Linked DNA regions of Homo sapiens: region 2 is linked to region 1. Evidence: promoter capture Hi-C in human tissues and cell types (Jung and others, 2019). All regions are on one chromosome and are shown on one strand. Each heading gives the region's core, a stretch centred on a gene start or on the middle of the fragment in contact. The rest is flanking DNA. Distances are from core to core; before and after follow the strand shown.

The links. Contacts are between HindIII fragments. The study calls those that stand out against the background at their distance.
Region 2: a fragment that was not itself captured here is called in contact with the fragment with the promoter of CD302 in region 1 in 1 of the 25 tissues and cell types used here (lymphoblastoid cells).

What each region holds. Positions count from the first base shown.
Region 1 is chr2:159,794,097-159,801,100 of GRCh38, forward strand. It overlaps CD302 (CD302 molecule), which reads right to left and starts at 4,112. Exons shown (of 6, transcript NM_014880.5): 1 at 4,036-4,112. The coding sequence starts at 4,102. The region is part of intron 33 of LY75-CD302 (LY75-CD302 readthrough); the gene reads right to left. It overlaps LOC124906083 (a long non-coding RNA gene), which reads left to right and starts at 1,094. Exons shown (of 2, transcript XR_007087273.1): 1 at 1,094-3,856; 2 at 4,723-6,156. The HindIII fragment of the contact is 5,989 bases long and covers 2,986-7,004 here.
Region 2 is chr2:159,833,359-159,840,362 of GRCh38, forward strand. It overlaps LY75-CD302 (LY75-CD302 readthrough), which reads right to left. Exons shown (of 38, transcript NM_001198760.1): 26 at 2,122-2,287; 27 at 686-853. It overlaps LY75 (lymphocyte antigen 75), which reads right to left. Exons shown (of 35, transcript NM_002349.4): 26 at 2,122-2,287; 27 at 686-853. Among named protein-coding and RNA genes, the nearest start is that of CD302, 39 kb to the left of the region's middle. The HindIII fragment of the contact is 5,948 bases long and covers 746-6,693 here.

The DNA of each region.
Region 1 (7,004 bases), core at 2,862-5,361:
CAAAAAAAAAAAAAAAAAATTAGCAGGGCATGGTGGCATGCACCTGTAGTCCCAGCTACTCAGGGGGCTGAGGTGGGAGGATCACTTGAGCCCAGCAGGTCAAGGCTGTAGTGAGCCATGATTGCACCACTGCACTCTAGCCTGGGTGACAGAGTGAGGCCCTGTCTCAAAACAATAAAATAAAATAAAATAAAATAAAATAAAATAATAAAAAAAAAAACACTAAATAACCCACAGAAGGAATGAAATACTTGATATGCACAATAAAAATTATGGAAAGTAACCTTGCTGCAAAACTAGTTTTCAACACATAAGCAAATTGTTAAAAGATTCTCAACAGTAAAAGAAGTCCTGAAATAATACCTAATTGAAATTTCACTTTTTCATTGGAAGAAAAATAAACATTAACATTTCAAAATTAATTAATTTATTTATTTATTTATTTATTTATTTATTCATTTATTTATTTTGAGACTGAGTCTCGCTCTGTCGCCCAGGCTGGAGTGCAGTGGCGCGATCTCAGCTCACTGCAAGCTCTGTCTCCTGGGTTCACGCCATTCTCCTGCCTCAGCCTCCTGAGTAGCTGGGACCACAGGTGCCTGCCACCACGCCCGGCTAATTTTTTGTATTTTTAGTAGAGACAGGGTTTCACCGTGTTAGCCAGGATGGTCTCGATCTCCTGACCTCGTGATCCACCCGCCTCGGCCTCCCAAAGTGCTGGGATTACAGGCGTGAGCCACCACGCCCAGCTCAAAATTTATTTTAAAATACTCTAATATTTAATCTGAGATAATTTCCCCTGAAACATAACTGTGCCATACACAAGAGTCAGAAAAGGTGGCATCAGGCCGGGCACGGTGGCTCACACCTGTAATCCCAGCACTTTGGGAGGCCGAGGTGGGCAGATCACGAGGCCAGGAGTTTGAGACCAGCCTGGCCAACATGGTGAAACCCCATCTCTACTAAAAATACAAAAGTTAGCCAGGCATGGTGGCGCATGCCTGTAATCCCAGCTACTCGGGAGGCTGAGGCAGGAGAATTGCTTGAACCCAGAAGGTAGAGGTTGCTGTGAGCCGAGATTGCGCCACCGCACTCCAGCCTGGGTGACAGAGTGAGACTCCATCTCGGAAAAAAAAAAAAAGAAAGAAAGAAAAGGTGGCAGCAATAGATTAAGATGATTTAAGGCTTTGAATTCATTATGAAATGAGTGCATAGCAGAGGTAATATAATTTGAAAAAAATTGCAATCCACTTATCCTACCTACTTTTTAAATAACTCACCTAAATTTTTTCATCCTTTTATTATAACTTAGAATAAAGTGCAGAGACACAAATCAAAACAAAACAAAAATCCACAAGATGGTAAAATCTCTGTTATGGAGCTTCTTTCCCCTGGTAAGAGAAGCAACAAGCAAGACAGATGAATAAACACAATGCATTCAGAAAGGCTTGGAAAAGATAAAACATGGACATGTGACAGAGAATGTGGGTGTTCAGGGAGGCTTCGGAGAAGGTGACATATGAACAGAGATCTGAATGGTGGAGGTGGGGGCAGCCATGCCAAGGACTGGGGGAAGGTGGTGTGCACAGAAGGACCAGAGGTGTTGGAGTACCCAGATACTGTTTACTCTGTGGATACACAGAGTGAATGGCAGGAAGGGTGGTAAGAGATGACATCAGGGAAGAAGGCAGAGGCACCTCATCTAAGGCTTGTAGGACATGGCAATTCAAAATCCCTAGATTCTGATCCACATGATGATCACAGAATGAGGACTTACTCGGAACATGCTTGTTCACTCAGCTCATGCCAGGCATAGGAAACCACTGACCAAATAAATACATACTGATCATCTATTATGTGCTTAAGCACCCTTACGGAAAAACTTTTTAAAGCGATGCCATGGATTTTCACTCAGGAATTTAAAGAATGTTTTGTCCACTGTGATTTTCAAAATAATAGCTAAGAACAAGGTTAAGATCACTTCACTAATAACCTCCAGAATGACAGACAATAACAATGATTTCCGTTTCAACATCACATTTATATGCAATACCCATATTTATTATGCAACATCATAAGAGCTTTTCTATTAAGATCTTGGTATTCAGCAACAAACTCTTTCTTGACTTAGTTCTAAGCCAAATATGACCCCTGATCTTGCTTGGATGGGAGATTTGTAAAGTATTATGAAAAACACACTTAGTTTTTCAGCCCTATAACATTAGCATACATATGAATGTGTTCAGTAACCATAAACATCCAATATACATAAGGTGGTATTCATACGTTTTCTGGTTGCAACAATTACCCTTCATTTTGTATGAAGAGAATAAAGGGAAGGAAACCAAGATGAACCACGCCTGTAATAGGGACTAGACGTGGAGTTCCCACTTAATGCTCCCAATAGCCCCATGAGTAAGTATTATCTCTGTTTTACTGAAGTGCAGATAAGTTGGTTAACTAGCTAGGTCAAAGCTCACACTCATTTCCAAATTAATCCTTAAAGCTTCCTGACTGGGAGGAGCTGATTAATTAACATTAATTTATTCATCATGCACTTTTCTAAAGCTCTTGAAAAGCCTATTGATCCACACTGGACTTATCAAAGGAAATGCACAAAAATTTCCAAAGGGAAATTTGCCCTCTATTGCTGGTCAAAACAGCTTCACTGAAGAAGAGACATACCAAAATCTAGAAACTGATTTTCTTTAAAAGTCTGACAAGAAAGAAAAATCTGACAAGAAAATTCGACTAGCCTAAAGTACAAATGCACAGCCTCGCAGAGGGTGGTTTACATGAGAGTTGAGATGTTACTGGCTCGCAAAATGAGGGTGTGCAGAAGGAGGGTTCAGAGACAGCCCAGCTTTGTCTTAGACAAAATTAATGTTCCCAGTCTGAACAATGTGAACATGGGCACATCTTGTTTCTGCCCCTTTGATAGGCAGCAGATGTCACAACCAGTCATAAATGCAGGTCCACAGAAGTTTTCAAGAAAGGAACCTTGGGTTTGTATCCAAGTTCTGAGCTGCTGCTGCCTCCAACACTGAGGTCCACTGAAATATTCCTGTCAGTAGACTTCGAGCAGGCAGTTATTATAAAAACGCAGTGAAATCTGGGGCAAGGGGTGGGGGGGGGGAATCTCTTGCATTTTATTTAAATCTCTTGCACTTTATTTAAGCCCACACAAGTACTCATTTAGTTCTTGTTTATTTTGCTCTTTAATTCCTGGAATTATTCAGTCAGTGGTGTTTTTGGAAGTCTGTGTTCTCCAGAGTCTCCCCATCCACATATTTTTGACATGCTTGTATGGAAATTTTTTAAAAATAAAGACCACGGTCAATAGAATTGTGCATTTTCCTCACGAGTCGTTTTGTAAATGAATGATCACGTGTGTGATTTTTCAGATGTCACTTGCACAACAGCAGACTAGAACTTTAAAACTCCTTGATTTCAGTGAAATCCAAGCTTTGCCTATTCCCGTTCCTCTTCCATCCAGGGGTTATTTGGCTGAACTGTTTTCCTGTTTAAACAACTTGAACACCAACCAACTAGACAAACAGCGCTGCTTGCAAAAGAGGGCCTACTTCCTCCGGCCCCCACCCCCATCCCAGCAACCCCACTCCGGCCGCGCACCAGCAGGGGAAATCGCCACCAACGTCCCCGCTTCTCATTTCAGCCCGAAATTGCCCTGAAACGGCGCCCGTCGTGCGACTCCAAGTCCCTCAGTTCTCCGGCCAACTGGCCTAATTTGGGGGTTCCCTCCCCGCGGAGTGGGGTCTGCGGTGAGGATGTGGACTCCGAGGAAGACAGAGCCCTCCCTTATTCTCGGCCACCTCCCCTCCCCGAGGGCAGGCGGGTGAGAGGTGACCCGGAGCCAGGACCCACGGGGGACGGGCGTGCAGGGAAGGGCGGGATGGCCGGCCGGGTGTTGCGTCTGCGGGCCGCCCTCGGGTGCGCGGGGACGAAGAGCGTGCGTTGGGAAGGGGGCGAAGGCGGTCGCGCACGGTCCCGGCGAGGGACTACGTAAGGGCTTACCCGCGACGGCAGCAGCGGCGAGGCCCAGCAACGGCAGCAGGAGCGCGGGCAGCGCGGCCCGGAGCATGACGGCGGGTGCGGGTGGGCGGCAGCGGCTGCGCGGCCGGAGAGGAGCGGGGCGGGGCGGGAGCGGGGGCGGTGCTTCTCGCGTGCGAGTTTAATCCCCCCCCCGGGCGGAACGTGAACGGCACTGGGGGCTCCCACCAGGAGAACCCGGGTGTCCCGTCCCGCAGGAGCGGCTGGCGCGCGGCCTTCTGGAACTTCTAATTTTTGTTTTTTAAACTTTTCATTTGAATTGAAATAATTTAGGACTTTCGAAAATGTTGCAAAAACAGCACAAGAGATTTCCGTAACCCTTCAGCCAGCTTCTCTAAATATTGACATTGTATATAACGCCAGTGCAGTGATCAAACACAGGGCACTCGCACTGGGATAATGCGATTAGCTAATCTACAGCACTTACCACATTTCATTAATTGCCCCTCTAAGGGTCCTTTTCTGTTCCAAGATTCAATCCAGGATCATACATTGCATGTCGTGTCTCCTTAGTCTCCCTTTAATCTAGGACGGTTCTCTGTCATTCTTTTTCTTTCACGATCAAACCACATTTAAAAAGTACTGGCCAGTCGTTTTGTAGAATGTCCCTCAGTTTCATTTTGTCTGACATTTCCTTCTAATTGGATTCAGGTTGCGCTTTTTTGGGAAAGAGTTCCCCAGAAGTGATGTACGTGCTCGAGAAGGACAAGATGTCGATGTCTCATCACTGATGTTAACTTGGATCAGTTGGTTAAGGTGGCGTTTGCCAGCCTTCTTCTTTGGATCTACTGGCCAGAATCCTCCTTTTCAAAGACCCCTTTCAGTGGACTATGTCTCTTAGACAACTTTTCTCTGTTACCAGCTCCTGGATGAAGAGTCTTTAAGCTATGTTTGCTACAATGTATGCATAAACTGTGCAATTATACTTCACCCATGAGGGCCTCTGGACAACACTAGCCAGGGTCAAGCAAGGGTGCTTGTTTAAGCCTCATGTCATTGGCAAAAGAGTTCTATAAAATCAAGTCTAAACTCAACAACGTGAAAACAAATGACCCAGTTAAAAAAAATGGTCAGATGATCTGAATACACACGTCATCAAAGAAGTTATATAATGGCAAATAGATGAAAAGATGCTCAACATCATATGTCATTGCTGAATTGTATATGAAAACAAAAATGAAATACCACTACATACCTATTAGATACCAGAATCCAAAAACACTGACAAGACCACATGCTGGCAAAGATGTGGAGCAAAAAGAACTCTCATTCAATGCTGGTGCAAATGCAAAATGGTACAGCCACTTTGGAAGACAATTTGGAAGCTTCTTCCAAAACTAAACGTACTCTTACCATACCATCTAGCAATCACAACTCCTTGGTATTTATCCAAATGAGTTAAAAACTTACATACACACAAAAACCTGCACATGAATGTTGATAGCAGCTTTATTCATAATTGCCAGAACCTAGAGGCAAACAAGATGTCCTTCAATAAGTGAATGGATAAACAATGGCACATCCAAACAATGAAATGTTACTCAGTACCAAAATTAAATGAGCTATCAAGCCACAAAAAGACATGGAAGAACTTTAAATATGTATTGCTAAGAGAAAGAAGCCAATCTGAAAAGACTGCATACTATATGATTCCAACTATATGACATTTTAGACAAGGCAAAACTATGGAGACAGTAAAAAGATAAATGGTTGCCAGGGGTTGGGGTGGGAAGAAGGAGGGGATGAATAGATGGAACACAGAGGATTTTTAGAGCCATGAAATTATTCTGTAGGATACTGTAATGGTAGATGTGTATCACTATACATGTGTCAAAACCCATAGAATGCACAAAACGAAGATGAACCCTAGTGTGGACAATGGACTTTAGTTAATAATGTGTCAATATTGGCTCATCCACTGTAACAAATGTACCTGCTAATGCAAGATGTTAATAATTGGGGAAACTGGGGTATGTGTAAGGAGGTACATGGGAGCTCTGTACCTTCTGCTACATTTTTTGTATACATCTAAAACTGCTCAAAAATTAGTCTATTTTTAAAAAAATAAAATCTGACCCTTTCCAACTCTTTCTAACCCTTTCCACACTTCTGATAATCCAGAGTGGTTACACCAAGGAAATTTGACCCAAGGGGTCTATAAGGAGAGTCATAGAGTGTTAGAAGTGGTACTAGTAAGGAAATTGAGTGACCCAAAGAAGGGATGTGATTCCCCCGTGGGCTCACAGAGAATGCCAACAAATGAACCAGAGCCCAGCTCCTCTGCTGGACTCTCCCACCTATTCCAGGTTCTGCCCCTTTGCCAAAGTATTAAGGTCTTGCTTAACTTATTTACTTCCATTTTTCTTCTCAGGCTGCCAATACTGAGTTTATTATATACCAAACTCCAGACCAGAGCAAATCCTTCCAAAGATACTCTATATTGGAATATTGACACATCTTGATTCTGGACCCTTTTGCCCTCCTAACTACAGAAGTAAAATGAACAGTTCTAAGCAATCATGTAATTGTGAAAGTTATCTCTTCCACCCCCACCTCAGGCACCAAAGTATATTTTATCAATGTGGTTTTGTGTTAAGCTACTTTTCAAATATTTTTATATTTACAATAGAATTGACATCCTAATGAATCAATCTAATTAAGGCAAAACCCATTTTAACACTGTCATTTTAAGTCATTTGTACTAAAGAAAATTATATTATTTTATTGTTAACTCTGGTGCACACTGCCTCATTTTTGATGCTAATCTGATGAAATAGACTACTTATTGCCTGTATGTGGGTACTGTTATATTTCGCTCTCCCATTTACTCTCCAGTTACACCTCATACCCTTAATTTTCCTTCACTCTGTCTCCAACTTACATCCTCTTTTGGCTCATGCCAGACTTCAGTCCCTTGCCTGCATTTTTCTCAG
Region 2 (7,004 bases), core at 2,470-4,969, 39 kb after region 1:
CTCCCACTTCAGCCTTCCAAAGAACTAGGATTACAGGCATGAGCCAGTGTGCCTAGCCCATTTCTTTTCCTTTTAAAGGAGAACCTGCCTTCCTTACAAACATAGACTAGTTCTTGAATGGAAGAGTAAAGAAAGGAGTTATGCCTATACTTTCCATTTTAACTAACACAAATTTTAATACTTTGTCACTGATAATGTAGATATTAGGAGATGAATATTTTTGTCATCTAGTTACTAGTGCTAATTAGAAATATTTATAACACAGGAAATATTTTTTTAATTAGCAAAATACAATAAGTAATGACAGTATAATATACTTGATATGGTTTGGCTGTTTCCCCATCCAAATCCCATGTTGAATTGTAGCTCCCATAATCCCCACATGTCATGGGAGGGACCTGGTGGGAGGTAATTGAATCTTGAGGGTGGGTTTTTCCCGTGCTGTTCTCGTGATAGTAAGTCTTATGAGATCTGATGGTTTTACAAAGGGCAGTTTCCCTGCACATGCTCTCTTGCCTGCTGCCATGTAAACATGTCTTTGCTTCTCCTTTGCCTTCTGCCATGATTGTGAGGCCTCCCCAGCCATGTGGAACTGTGAGGCCATTAAACCTCTTTTTCTTTATAAATTACCTAGCCTCGGGTATGTCCTTATAGCAACATGAGAATGGACTAATATAATACTTACTCAGTTTCTGGCATTTAGTATGAACTTCATCCTGTGTTGTTGCCATATGCCTATTCTTTGTTATTATGAAATTGTAGCAACAGTTCTGAAATGGTATCCACGGAGTATTTAGAACAGGAGATGGACATTTAACACTGTCAACTGGTTTGACCTCTTTTTCAGTCTCATCTAGAAAAAGAGTTAATGGTAAGAATTCTAATTTGAGATATAAATGTTAAATCCTGTTTGCAGTCATTAGGCTTGATTTGTAGGAAATATTCAGGAAGCCGAGAAGTAATATCCTGGTGAAGCCTGTCTCTGTTTATACTCAGATATAGCACACAAAAAGCCAGCTTTCTATAGGAAGGAAATTACTTGACACAATTTTCTTACCCCTGCTGTGGCATGGAAGAATGTAAAAAATGAGGTGCTATTAGGTTAAATGCAGTTTCTGTCTTCCTGCATTACCAAATGTCAAGTACAAGGGACCACCCCTAGAGATGCTGTACAAACATATTCATTATTAAAAGTCACCTAACTATAACTCTGAGAATTTATTTTAAAGTTTCTGTCTACTGATACTATTAATTTTAAAGGAACATTTAAATGAAACATTGATGTTCTAAATAAGTTATTGCTTTAACCAAGTCAAACAAAAATAATATTTAAAATCTGACATCTACAGTATCTGATTATGATCTTTTTCCATTTTATGAAAAGGCCATACATTCACAAAGATACAAATATAAACATATTCCACTCAAATACATTAAACTGATTTAATATGTGGCAGAGATCACTCAGTATCTCTCCTGGATCACAATAAGTCCCTTTGTCCATGAAGCAGTGTCTTCTTTCTACCACAGACCCACAAATGTGACCTTGCCAGTTGTAAAAACACTTTCCTCTGACTGGGCTAGAGACTGCACACCTGACTCAGGCTAAGTTCATGAGATGTTCTCTAGGGATTTACAAAGTGAAATTTAGAAATTGTCAACTCATCTCCAGTTATAGGTTCAGCTCTATCCCCGTTTTGGGGATCCTAAATTTCCCCTTGTCTTAAGCTAGCTTGAGGTGGTTGCTGTGAATCTTAAGACTCATAAAAGTCCTGTTAGTTGTGATATTATGAATCACAAAAGAATTCTCACAAATGTAAGCTTTCTACAACTATAAATATATGCAGAAAGAGGTAGAGTAACAATGGGATTTTAAGTGTTAATCCCCATTGTCAGCTGACATAAAAATAAAACATGCCTAAAATGACCCATTAATAATAATATATGTAATATATAATTCTACTTGAATACAAATTTTCACAACAAATGTTGCCATAAAAAGACATGACTATAATTTCTTCACAATTCCAAAACCAGATTTTATAAAACCACTCCTCAGAAATTCTACCACTTATGGGACTGTTAATAATTTAAGAATTAAAAGATCTGAAATTCACATACTTCCTGAATAGTAGCAAATAGCACCTGGTTGATTGTCATTGCAATCAACTGTTTTCCAGAATCCATCAGTGTCTAATACTACACAGTCTTCGAGTTGCCCATTAGTTTCAGCCCAGCGACTAAAATGAAGACGTTTCCCATCTGACCAACCAAAGTTGAGTTCATCCTGTAAGGAGCAGAAGTACATTTCAGGTGGCAATATTGATGTTAACCCTTTGTATTATTTTGACTCCCATGGTCAATCTAATGATTTTTAATTTTTTTAATATTTAATACACATTTACATACCATTTACTACATAACAAGCATTGTTCTAAATGCTTTACAAATATTGGCTTACTTAATCCTTGTAACAACCATATAGGAGAGGTACTATTATTATCTCCATTTTAAAGATGAGGAAACTAAAGGTATGTAACTTGTGCAAAGTCCCACAGAATACAAACCACAGTGCTGGGCCTTTCTGCCAGGCTGTCGATCCCCAGAGTCTATGTCCTAACCATTATGCTACGCTGCCTCACACATAATTGGATCCACTGGTTATCAGAAATCAGAAAGCTAAAATGGGGTGAGGATCACTATAAGTACTGATTAGATCAGAGACCACCTGGCATAGTGGAAAGAATATGGGCTACGGAGCTAAACCTACATGGTTTTGAATCCTGATTCAGTCACTTACTAGCTTTCATGTGCCATCTCTCCAAATTTCCATCCCCTACCAAGTTAAGTGTGACACTTAACTTCGTGGGGCTGGAATTAATGGGATAACATGTGTAAAGCCCGCAACCCAGGGGCTAGCTGGCACACAGAGAGCTGGTGGTTCCCTTCCTCTGAACTCTTCAGGCGCTGTGGCTCTCACATCACTGTTTTCACACTTGTTGGGGAGAGAAGCTTCTTCATTCACTAGATTCTGTTGTGTGCTAGAGGTCTGTGAACGTCTGCCTTTACACCCTGCCAAGGTCCTGACCACCCATCTAGGTACAGGAGATGGATTGTGGGGTACAGGCCTGTCTGAGCTTCCCCATGGTGCTGCCAGAGACCTTACATACCCACTGGTGGGCCTGGTGCTGGCCTAACAGACCCACTGAGCTAAGCTTTCCTGAGTCCCAAGACAATCTGCATCACTAGTTTATTTGAAATATGGAACGAAGCGACACAGTCTCCTTAGTAAACCATAAACAGCAACACAGTCAAGCCTCAACACCACTCGCTGCTTCATTCTGAAATGTTCATGACCAGAGTTCCAGCTGTAATCCTAGCCCCTAACCTAACCCAGTTAGGGCCTAAGCCACTGTGGCCTCCAGTGTGGCCCTTCGGCCATGCGACTTTGCCTGCACTCATTCAGACTGCCCTGCATTTCTTCCCCTTTGCTGCACTCCCCACCTAACCCTGTCCCTGATCCTTTGGAATTTCCATTCCATCTAAATAAATCATCCCACACCTTTTATCTTTTTACTGAATACAAAGTATGAAGACTATAAATATCTTTTCACTAAATTCTTGATCTTAATTGATCTTAATTTAACTCTGGCTTTTCCAGGGAATGCTCACACATTGTTGGTGGGATTATAAATTAGTTCAGCCCCTGCGGAAAGTAGTTTGGAGATTTCCCAAAAAACAAAAATAGAATTACCATTCAACCCAGCAATCCCATTACTGGGTATATACCCAGAGGAAAACAAATCGTTCTACCAAAATACACCTGCGCTCATATGTTTATTGTAGCACTATTCACAACAGCAAAGACAGGGAATCAATCTAGATGTCCATCAGCAGTGGATTGGATCAAGAAGATGTAGCACATATACATGATGGCATACTGTGCAGCCATAAAAAAGAACGAAATCATCTCCTTTACAGCAACATGGATGTAGCTGGAGGACATTATCCTAAGTAAATTAATGCAGGAACAGAAGACCAAATACCACATGTTCTCACTTATATAAGTGGGAGCTAAATATTGGGTACACATGGATGTAAAGATGGGCATGATATTGTCTGGGGACTCCAAAAGTGGGGAGGGAGTGGAGCAAGGGTTGAAACACTACCTATTGGGTACTGTGTTCACTATTTGGGTGACAGGTTCAACTGAAGCCCAAGCCTCAGCATCCCACAGTGTATGTATTGTAACAATCCTGCATGTGTACCCCCTGAATCTTAAATAAATACATAAATCTGGCTTTTCCAAGGGAATAATCTCCTTTCAGCACCCACAGGGGAAGACTATTTGATATTCTATTCTCAGATACCACAGGACTATGAGAAAGGAGTAGTGGATATTTTTATCTCCTTTTATTTCCTTTCAGGATTATTCCCCTTGTATCACTGCAAACTCCCCATGACATTCACTGAGGACTTGGTCGCCTTGCTCCTCCCTGACATTCACTAAGATGTCCCAATTCTTGCTGTCCTCCCGGTCCTACCATTAACTTGGGATGCCTGTGTTCATGTTTCCAAGCCTTCTTGACTTCCTTTAATTCTATGTATTTTTATTTCTTCAAGCTGGGTACTTGAGTGACCCACTGCATGGCCACACTCTGCACTTCACATAACCCAGAGCTGCCTCTCCTCAGACACTGTAAACGCCAACAGCATTTCCTGCATGAATTTATAGAAAAATAACTGCTCTCCCTCTCTCCAGCTGCTTGCGTCCTCCCCGGCCTTCCACACAGTGTCGTCTACTTAAGTAAAGTCTTATATTGCCACTACTCTGTTTAAAATCTTTCAATATCTTCTCATTGCTTTCAATGTAAAGTATTTATTAACATCCTGTCATTTTCAAAGAATTAAGGCAGCTATTAGGATATATAGTTAAACAGCTACACAGAATATGTTAAAATTAAGGGTGAAAGGGAAAAGAGAACCATAGGTAAAGGTTGAAAATAGGATAAGAAGTAAGACCCAAATCATTAAGTGGGGAGGGGAGTTACAAAATAGTCTGATTCCAACTGTCTAAAAAATAAATAGGTACACATAGAAAAATAACTTGAAAGATCCATACCAAAATATTGATTGAATCATGTTTATTTTTAGGTACTGGCATTACAGGTGACTTTAATTTTGTTCTTTTAATTACTGACAAATTTTCTACATTGCAATACTGTTTTTGTCTCAAAAGATTTAGGGTGACTGAAACTAGGAAATGTAATCACCTATTGTTTCCTCACAACAGACACAACAAAGCGTTTCACAGAATTTCCAATGCTGAAGATAAAGCAAGTAAATGCAATGCTATAAAACAATTGAGACTGTGAGGACTGAGTAAGCAGCTTCCCCATCTCCTGGCTTGCTCTGGGTTAATTTAATTTAATTAATTAATTAATTTTTTTATTTAGAGATGGAGTCTCACTCTGTCGCCCAGGCTGGAATGCAGTGGTATAATCTCGGCTCACTGCAACCTCCACCTCCCAGGTTCAAGTGATTCTGGTGCCTCAGCCTTCTGAGTAGCTGGGGTTACAGACGCCCGCCATGATACCCAGCTAATTTTTGTATTTTTAGTAGAGACAGGGTTTCACCATGTTGGCCAGGCTGGTCCCAAACTCCTGACCTCAAGTGATCCACCCACTTTGGCCTCCCAAAGTGCTGGGATTACAGGCATGAGCCACCATGCCCGGCCGATCTGGGTTAACTTTAGAATACCCTGTGGCTCAGAGAGACTATTCTTTAAGCTATTCCTAAATGCTACTTTTAATTGAGCTTTTGATAACAATTCTTGTTTTTCCATCCATTCTTCAGTTCAATTCTGAGTCTTCAATCGCATTTTTTCCATGCATCCCTAGACCCATCCTGGTATACTTTGGGATATACCATGGCTGAGAAAAGAGGTGGCCTATAATGCCAATAGGAATACCACAGCTTTATTTAAAAATCCCTTATTTAATTATAGCCAAAACTTCAGCTGTGTAATGATTCCGGTTTGTGCTACATGTGCAGAGGTTAGTGATGCGAATTAGTAGGAGACTAGCATTCTTTGTTGGGCTCTGAAATGAATGAGAAGTGCTTGAGACATCTATCTAGGATCAGCACTTGAGATGGAGGAAAACACTATTCAACCTCCTTTTCAGAGTTGCTTAATTTTACTTTGCTGAATTTTTTCTTCTTAAACTAGAGACTGGGGTTTTGCTATGTAGTCCAGGCTGGATTTGAACTCCTGGGCTCAAGTTATCCTCTTGCCTCCAGAGTAAATGGGACTACGGGTGTGCACCACGGTGCCCAGCCATGCTGCTGATGTTGAAAGGGATGGAAGCTGGTCGTGGTGGCTCACACCTCTAATCCCAACACTTTGGGAGCCTGGGGCGGGCGGATCACTTGAGGTAAAGAGTTCAAGACCAGCCTTGCCAACATGGTGAAACCCCATCTCTATTACAAATACAAAAATTAGCTGGGCGTGTTGGCGCATGCCTGTAATCCCAGCTACTGAGGAGGCTGAAGCATGAGAATCACTTGAACCTTGGAGGTGGAGGTTGCAGTGAGCCGAGATTGCACCACTGTACTCCAGCCTGGGTGACAGAACAAGAACCTGTCTCAAAAAAAAAAAAAAGAAAAAGAAAAAAGAGAAAGGGATGGAAAGGACTCTTTAACACTATCCATAGTGCTTCCACACAACTGATTTTTAAATTCTTCCCTTATCTTTTCATTGGCTGAAGAGATATGGCAGCTCCAGATTCTAGCTCGTCTTTGATTAGAATAAATAAAAAGAAGTGCTCAAATATATATATATCTCCACCAGAACCTTTTCCTCATTTAAACAATGAAGTACTAGATCTTTCAATAGTGGAAAGATAATTGCCTCTAAAAACCACATATTGCTGCTAGGTGCCATGGCTCATGCTGGTAATCCCAGCACCTTTGGGAGGCCAAGGTGGGCAGAGTGCTTGAGTCTA